3 separate regions of the Homo sapiens genome follow, and regions 2 and 3 are each linked to region 1. Evidence: promoter capture Hi-C in human tissues and cell types (Jung and others, 2019). All regions are on one chromosome and are shown on one strand. The core of a region is centred on a gene start or on the middle of the fragment in contact, and the rest is flanking DNA. Distances in the headings are between cores, read along the strand shown. Region 1 holds the start of GTPBP4 (GTP binding protein 4). Region 2 overlaps DIP2C (disco interacting protein 2 homolog C). Region 3 overlaps DIP2C (disco interacting protein 2 homolog C).

Region 1 (3,059 bases), core at 496-2,995:
CTGCACTTTGGGAGGCCAAGGTGGGTGGATCACTTGAGGTCAGGGTTTGAGACCAGCCTGGCTAATATGGTAAAACCCTGTCTCTACTAAAAATACAAAATATTAGCCGGGAGTGGTGGCAGGTGCCTGTAATCCCAGCTACTTGGGAGGCTGAGGCAGGAGAATGGCTTGAACCCTGGAGGCGGAGGTTGCAGTGAGCTGAGATGGCGCCACTGCGCTCCAGCCTGCGCGACAGAGTGAGATTCCGTCTCAAAAAAAAAAAAAAAATTAAAGAAAGGATGTTTGCCCATCTGAAGCAAAGTATTGACTGGACTTATCTAAATACCGGATTACAAGAAAAAGAGGAACTGGCTATATCAGAGTGAGAGAAAGTGGGAGAGGTTGAGGAAACATACAAGAACCTAAAAGAAAGGGCAATAAGTATGAGCATAGCTTTGCTAATCTCGGAAATGGTGGCCAGAACTGTCCTGTGGTTTAGCAAATGATCATAGCCAGCAAATCCTAATTACCCTAGAAGCTTCCTTTAGAAGTGCCACAAAGATGTAGGAGGTATGCTTATCCGCCTTGTGACACAAAAATGGAAGCATAGTTAATAGATGAGAAAAGCATGACCCAGAATGATTTTCAATATTGGAATGCTGGGAATTTATGAGAGGTATTTTCGCGTAAGAATAATAGGACTTGTTTAAAAGGATTGGAGAGTGGGGGGCATCCCAGATGCGTGAGAAGCAGTATAGCTAATGGTTAGAAGCAGGTTTGCTGGAGCCAGGCTGCCTGGGTTCAAAGCCCACCTCTGCTGCCTGTTAGCTTGTCAGCTGCACAACCACGGGGTGCTTTCGAGCCTTGTGTGCCTTTGTTTCCCCATGCACTTCATGAGGCTGTTGCAGAAATTAAACGAGTTAATATATAGTCAGCAGCTCTGAACACTGCTTGACTGAGTCAGCCCTACCTAACGTTTAATTTAAGGGATGTGGCCCTGGGTTCCCAAAGGGAGCGGCCACTCTATTCACAAACATAAAAGCAGTAAAGGCTCCATCCTCATCAACCTTCTCCTCAGTTGGACCCCACAGGACTGTCTCTCGCAACTGTTCCCTGGGCTCTCCTAAGGCACTGCGCGGAACCAGCTGCACCTCTTTTGCCTTAGATCAGGCTTTCCCTTCTCCGCCCGTTTTGGGATTTAACAAGCACGAGAAAGCAGGGCTGCAGGGAAGCCGCGAGGGCCTCCTCACCACGGCCCGGGATCAAGTCCCACGCGCGAGGCCGGGGTAGGGGCGTCATCTGCTCCACACCCAGAGGCTGGGCACGCCCCGCACGCGCGGCTTCCTCCTCCTTTGCGGGGCTCGCCGCGACCCAGGACCCCCAGACTCCCGGATCCCCTAGACCCTCTGGACTCCTAAGCCCCGCAACTCCCAAATCCCAAGACCCCGGACCCTCCAACCCTGGCCCAGGGCGCGTGGCTGGGGGCCTGAACCCGCTCCAGAAACCCGCAGGGCAGTCTGTCGGAAACCCCCGCTTTACTCAGCAGGAATTTAGTCTCCGCGCTCCCCCTAAAACCCGGGCGTCCTCTCCTCTGTACCCTCGCTCCTGAGGCCCTCACACGCCCTCCGTGGCTGACCTCCAAGCCGGGCGGGTGCGCTGTGCGACGCGGAAAGCGCCGTAGAGCACGCAGAACACGATTGGCTGAGCTCCCGGAAGTGACGTACCTCAACCGCCCGACAGTGGAAGTCCCACCTGCGCCCGACGGCGGAAGTTCCGGGAGTGCCAAGTACCCGCGTGCATACGGCTGCCGGCATGGCACATTACAACTTCAAGAAAATTACGGTGGTGCCGTCCGCCAAGGTAGGCGGCCCCGGGAGGGCCACTGCAACTTTCGCGTTCTCCTCAGCTGGGTCCCCGGGGAGGGTCCGGGCCTGTAGCCGTGGGAGAGCGGTCGCCTTCCGCTCGCCCATCCCCCGCTCCTGGGCCTGACCGTCTGGCCGCGTACTCGGGATCATTTCCCCTCCCCCAGCAGAATCCGGGGTCCACCAGAGATCGGATCCCCCAGAGACCGGGGTCCACCTAAGACCGTGGTCCACCCAAAGACTGAGGGCCCCCAGAGATGGGGGTACACCCAGAGTTGGGTTCCCTGGAGGGGCCCCGGGTGACGATGTGGGCGAGTGGAGGGGGACCCCGACATGTGAGGGAGGAAGCGTTCCGTGGTCCGTGATGAGCCTTCGGATTCTGGGTTTGGCGTAGCCCCCTCCCCTCTCAGGAATCCTGGGTTCGTTGTTCTCGTGATTTAACGTTTCATAATTTTTAAGTCATTCTCTTTCACTGTTAGATTTGGGAATACCTGTTCCTTTTCAGACCATAGTAGGCCCAGACTAAATTTTTACAGCGTTGGTTGGTGTGGCAAGAATGAGTCAACAAGTGTTGAGTATTAGGACTTTTTTTTTTTTTTTTTTTTTTTGAGACATAGTTTTTCGCTCTTGTTTCCCAGGCTGGAGCGCAGTCTCGGCTCACTGCAACCTCCACCTCCCGCGTTCAAGCGATTCTCCTGCTTCAGCCTCCCGAGTAACAGGGATTACAGTCGTGCACCACCACACCCAGCTAATTTTCGTATTTTTAGTAGAGACGGGGTTTCACCACGTTGGCCAAGCTGGCCTCGAACTCCTGATCCCGGGTGATCCTCCCGCCCCGGCCTCCCAAAGTGCTGGAATTACAGGCGTGAGCCACTGCGCCCGGCCCTAGTATTAGGACTTTTAAGAAGTCACGTTTTTATGTAGTGAACATTCGATTTGGGTCGCAATTACACAGACATTGACGGGCAACTGGAGCCTCCCAGGGACTCCTGCACGAGAGGGAGTTACTGAAGTCCCTGCAGAGTGACTGTTTTCCCCTCGTCAGTGCCTCCTTTTCTTCAGGTCTCAAGGACGGGATGAGCTTGCCTTGGAAAGCTTTGTGGGAGTCTCGTATTTTACCTTCATAGCAAAAGTTGTTTCCCCACTTCTCTCCACCATTTCTTATTTCTTCCTGACAGTTGTTCTGGCACATCTCTTGATCGATTGTAGTATTTTCTT
Region 2 (3,028 bases), core at 492-2,991, 390 kb before region 1:
GGGCACTCGGGACAAGAGGTAAAATGGCAAATCCCCTCTGCAGCAAAGGCGAGGCGCAGGGCCCACACGGAATCAAACTGACCTTTTTCTGACAGTCTCAAAACAAAGAAAATACTGTACAGCCAACGTCCCCTCACGCAGGTTTACTCACCTGTGACTCGTGGGCCATGACAGAAAACTTCAGGTTCTTATTAGTTCCTATTTTCCCCATCCAGGAAGCCTTTGGTTTTAATATACAAACTTGCCATTTTGTAGGCCAAAAACAGCCAAATATTGGCAGTTTCCTATGGTTCAACTGAATAAAATATGACCACAACCTTTTGTGAAACCATGAAGAAAAAGTGAGTATCTCAATATGTGTTTCCAGACTGTGGCTTTGTCCCTGAAGCACTAACTCTTCTCACTCAGGATTTGAGACACTGAAGAACAAACATCAATATCCCACCAAGAGAACTGAAAGAATGAAATGATTTTGCATCTACCTTGAAGCCTTTTTAGAACAAGGCAGGACACAAACTTTTAAAAAGCTCCAGTTGTCCCTCCATCTACACAGGGACATCGGTTCCAGGACACCCCGGGTTTACCGAAATCCACGCGTCCGCAGGACCCGCGCCCACCCTGTGGAGCTGCATGTAGGAAATGTCGGCCCTCCACAAAGTCAGGTTTTTTCAATAAGGGTTTGGTTGGGAAAAAAAATTAACGTAAATGATCCTTCGAAGCTCAAGCCCATGTTGTTCAGGGTCAGCCGCACTTACTACTTGTGTCATAATCTGAGGCCTGACAGCCATCGTTCTTGATAAAGGGATGGTTAACAAACTAACTGTTCTGATTAGAAAGCGGAGGAAAAAGCTTATTTTTAAGCCGACAAAGAGTGGACACTGCTATGGTGAATGGAAAACAGACGTAAATAAGCACCAAGGCTGGGGTGACTGCCTGTGCTCAGACCCACTAAGGCCTGTTCCTCCGCCTCCCTCTGCTCAAACGGATAACTCCTTCCCCACGGCTAAAGGACCTTTTTTAAAGATTCACGCGAGAAGTGCTATGAAAAGCTGAAAGGTCACAGATAACGTTTTAAAAAATAAAAGTAACCTAAGTATTGAACAAGCCCATTATAAATGATAAAAAATGATATTAAGTTGCTGGGTGCGGTGGCTCACGCCTGTAATCCCAGCACGTTGGGTGGCCAAGGTGGGTGCATCACCTGAGATCAGGACTTTAAGACCAGCCTGGCCAACATGGTGAAACCCCATCTCTAACGAAAATTAGCCGGGCGCAGGTGCCTGTAATCCCAGCTACTTGGGAGGCTAAAGGAGGAGAATCACTTGAACCTGGGAGGGAGAGGTTGCAGTGAGCCGAGATCATGCCATTGCACTTCAGCCTGGGCGACCAGTGCGAAACTCCATCTCAAAAAAAAAAAAAAAAAAAAAAAAAAAAAAGTATTAAGTTTTCCTTCCAATGAACCTATCATTCTGCCACCGAGGTATCCTATAGGTACTTATTCAGCCATGAGATACATCACAGGAGACGTAGGTGAATAGGACACAGTTCCTCCCTGACAGAAGGCTGCACCCCAAGGAAGGAAGGCACATACTGTGAATGGAATCGGCATAGGGAACAGATGCTGCGGGAAGTGGAACTGGCTTCACAGAGCACCCGGCTCAAGCGTCTGAGAAATAAGGAGCCATTGGTGGCATCACCTGTGCCTGAGCTGGGGTGGTGGGGAGCCTGTCATCACCACCACTGCCCAGGACAAAGACACCCAGAACCACACAATGAGCTTTCAAGCTCACCAAGGCGATGACTGAGCAATGCGCATAGTGACGCGAACATGCAGACATGAGGGCCACACGTGGCATTGGTTTTGTGTATCGACCTGAGTGGGCCCCGGGGTGCCCAGGTGGCTGGTTCTGCATTATTTCTGTGTGAGATGTGTGTTTGCCTCTGGACTGAGTGGAGACTAAGTGGAGACCCATCCTCGCCAGTGTAGGGGGCACCACCCTGTCCACCCAGGGCTCCAGGGCTCGAGTAAAACAGCAAGGCGGGGAAGGCTGGGCTCGCTCCACCTGTCTGGCTGCAGGCCAGTGGCATCCGTCTTCTGCCCCCGGTGCTCCTGGGTCTCAGCTCCTCAGACCTGGGTGGGATCTGCACCCTCCGCTTCTCAAGCCTTTGAGCCACACCCTCCCAGGCCTCCAGGTTGCAGGCAGTGGGTCCTGGGGCTTCTTGGCCTCCGTAGCCCCTGCAGCAAGCCTCCCCCTGGACACACACACACCGGGCTGGCTCTGTCTCTCTGGAGAGCCCTGACTAAGCTGCCCCTAGAAGTGGTCTTCAGAGTTTCCTTCTAGCCCCAATATCCCAGTGCCCCCCTACAATTCTAGGTGGAAAGGTGAATGGAGACCTGGTGAATGGAGACCAATGGACAGAGGTGTGTGCCGAGGACACGCTGGGCAGCAGGGCTGGGCAGGAGTGCACTAACGCTGTCACTATGCAAAGAATCAATGTCACTTGCCACAAAAATGAGAACAGTAAAGATTCCTTCAAACAGAAATGAGTTTGTTTCATGATTTGCTCTTAATACGTAAGAAATCATAAAAGTAGGCCTACTAACAATTACGTAAGTCTTCAGAGGCTCCTGAACTACTTCTGTCCCTTCATGTTTTTATACAAAATAAGCTTGAGGTTAAAGAGAATAACGTCACTGGCCACAGCTGGGGCCACACGAGGACACAGCTTACACCCATGAGGTCCTAGGGGTCCTGAGTCCTTTCCTGGCTATTTATGGAAATACGGGAGAAACCAGGAGGTCTGAACGTGGACCTGGCCATGCCCCCAGGGGCCAAGGAAAGCACCCATCTGTCCACTCTTCCCTCTACCCCACGGTTCCCTACCTGGACTCTGGGGCTGACGTGGCTTCATGCACTCAGCAGCGCCATCATTAAACGTTTAGGAGGGCCTCCTCTAACCACCGCTGGACCTGCAGAGTCAGCACAAGTCTGCAGGACACGCGTGGACAAGGCTGATGGATCACGGC
Region 3 (2,753 bases), core at 215-2,714, 450 kb before region 1:
GACGGTAACCGCCAAAGCTTATGTACTTGGAAACTTTCAAGGAGACCAAGTTCAGAGCTGTCACAACGCAGCACCATCCTCACACAATTATCTCAGGTGTGTTTGAGGGCAAGTGCCCCCGTCACAGGGGGAAAGCTGCCCGGCCCAGCACTTCCTGAGATCACACAGAGCTTCCACCTTCCCACATCTTCAATAGTTCCTTTACACTGGGAACCAGAGAGCAAAACCTAAAACACTTCCTCAAATCTCAAGACAGTCTTGAGTCCTCTTCTCCTTGCCCCTTCTCTCACTGAAAAAGCCTATTCTATAAGCAATCTGTAGTGCTTACCAGAGCTGGGGTAGGAGGAAAGCTAGTGTTTGGTAGACCAAGTTTCAAGCTTGGGGAGACCAAGAATATGGCGGTGATCGTGGCATGACAGTGTGAACGCACTTAATGCCACCAAATCGTACACTTAAAAATGGTCACAGTGCTATGTAATTTTACCACAATAAAAAGACTAACTGAGAAAAGTAATCTCTAATTACTGTCTGCCATTTCTTGCATCCTGTAAGGTGCATTTGCTTTTGGAAATCCTCAGAGCAATCATGAAAGACTAATACCCTGTCATCTCTGAAACACAGGTAAAGTCTTTCAAGGGTTTTGATTATAGTAAAGTAGCTGGAAAGCAAAGCATGCATTAGACACAGCAGCCGTGATAGGACAAACACATGGTAGGAAGGTGGTGGTCGTGCTACACGCAGATGGGGAAGGATGTGGGGAGCCACAACACCCGATGCTGGGGAGCCACAACACCCGATGCTGGGGAGCCACAACACCCGATGCTGGGGAGCCACAACACCCGATGCTGGGGAGCCACAACACCCGATGCTGGGGAGCCACAACACCCGATGCTGGGGAGCCACAACACCCGATGCTTGGGAGGCACCTGGGCAGGAGCTGAGAATGTACCAAACACGTTCTACCACGCAACATTCATGGACCCTGAGTCCGGCCACCACCGCCGACATCCACTCTGGCTGAGGTGTCCTCTGTCACAGACACACACACCCTGCCGAGGACAGTGCACAGGTTAAATGTCAAAGCACAGACATGCTCAGGTCCAGCTGCTCAGCCAAAAGCAAAAACACATTTCCCAGACACCACAGCTTGACCTTCCACCTGACCACACCCATCTCTCCTGCACCCCACATCGTGACCCTCCACCCGACCACACCCGTCTCTCCTGGACCCCCCCGAGTGACCCTCCACCCCCATATCTCTCCTGGATCCCACAGCATGACCCTCCACACTGACCACACCCATCTCTCCTCGACCCCACAGTGTGACCCTCCACCTGAACACCCCCATCTCTCCTGGATCCCACAGCGTGACCCTCCACATGACCACACCCATCTCTCCTGGACCCCACAGCGTGACCCTCCACCCGACCACACCCGTCTCTCCTGGAACCCCAAGAGTGACCCTCCACCTGACCACCCCCATCTCTCCTGGATCCCACAGCATGACCCTCCACACTGACCACACCCATCTCTCCTGGACCCCACAGCGTGACCCTTCACCTGACCACACCTGTCTCTCCTAGACCCCACAGCATGACCCTCCACCTGACTGCACCCTGTCTAGTGCATCCCTGCACCTGTCTCTCGGCCCCCCTCACCTCACTTCCTCACCTTCTCGTCGGGTCAAGCACCAACAATCCGCTGTGTGCCTGGTGCACTGAGCCTTGTCAGGGGCCTCTGGGCCGCGTGCCAGGACACGCCCCTGGGGACTCCCAGTGCACACGTTGGTCTCCTGCACACTTGGCTCTTCTATCTGCGGGAGCCGGCACCCACCCCTACAACTGACTGCACTCTCAGAAAAGTCCCAGAAGACCCCTCACCAACCCAGCAACACCTTGAGGCCACATCCCACTTGCCTGCTGGCTCCTGAACCTCCCCCACCCTGTGACGGCTCACTCCCTCCTGAGCTCCTTCTGCTCCCTGCCTGCCTCTGCGAGTTACCTCCTGGGCGATGCCAGGTGACGGTAACATCAACCAGGAGGCACTGCTGAGAAGCAGAAAGCATGGTGCAGTGCCCAGAACGTCATGTCCCTCAACAGATGCTCTATGTCTTCTCCTCCTCTCCTGGCAGAGCTTTGCTGTAGGAAGAAGGCCATTCCTCCAGTGCTGCTACTTCCAACACTGGGGAAAACAAGCTTCAGAAAGGAACGGTGTCAAAGAGGCAGGACCCACCAGCAGGACTGCCAGCGGCCAGACGACCACAGCCCCAGCATTCCCCAGCCACTACGGCCGACAGCCCAGGCTCCAGAAATGCACAGCTTCAACCTTCAGAGTAAAAACCCTCCCAAGCCAACTATTTCTTCAACAATCGGATTGGGGAATGGAGGGTTCTAACCCTGCCCCTCTCTATACCACAGATCATCAGATCCCAGTTCTTATCAGATTGGGAAGTGGGGGGTTCTGACCCTGTCCCTCTCTATACCACAGGTCATCAGATCCCAGTTCTTATCGGATTGGGGAGTGGGGGGTTCTGACCTTGTCCCTCTCTATACCACAGGTCACCAGATCCCAGTTCTTATCAGATTGGGGAGTGGGGGGTTCTGACCCTCCCCCCTTCTCTATACCACAGATCATCAGATCCCAGTTCTTACGGGATTGGGGAGTGGGGGGTTCTGACCCTGCCTCTCTATATACCACAGATCATCAGATTCTAGTTCTTTTCTAAGCCCAGCACTTTGCTTCTGCCACATGCA

The links. Contacts are between HindIII fragments. The study calls those that stand out against the background at their distance.
Region 2: a fragment that was not itself captured here is called in contact with the fragment with the promoter of GTPBP4 in region 1 in 1 of the 25 tissues and cell types used here (dorsolateral prefrontal cortex).
Region 3: a fragment that was not itself captured here is called in contact with the fragment with the promoter of GTPBP4 in region 1 in 1 of the 25 tissues and cell types used here (dorsolateral prefrontal cortex).

What each region holds. Positions count from the first base shown.
Region 1 is chr10:986,689-989,747 of GRCh38, forward strand. GTPBP4 (GTP binding protein 4) reads left to right here and starts at 1,746. Exons shown (of 17, transcript NM_012341.3): 1 at 1,746-1,839. The coding sequence starts at 1,792. It also overlaps a transcript of LARP4B not described here. The HindIII fragment of the contact is 8,297 bases long and covers 143-3,059 here.
Region 2 is chr10:595,091-598,118 of GRCh38, forward strand. All of the region lies in intron 1 of DIP2C (disco interacting protein 2 homolog C), which reads right to left. Among named protein-coding and RNA genes, the nearest start is that of DIP2C-AS2, 32 kb to the right of the region's middle. The HindIII fragment of the contact is 4,963 bases long and covers 1-3,028 here.
Region 3 is chr10:540,227-542,979 of GRCh38, forward strand. All of the region lies in intron 1 of DIP2C (disco interacting protein 2 homolog C), which reads right to left. Among named protein-coding and RNA genes, the nearest start is that of DIP2C-AS2, 87 kb to the right of the region's middle. RefSeq lists an enhancer at 1,514-2,014. The HindIII fragment of the contact is 5,024 bases long and covers 1-2,753 here.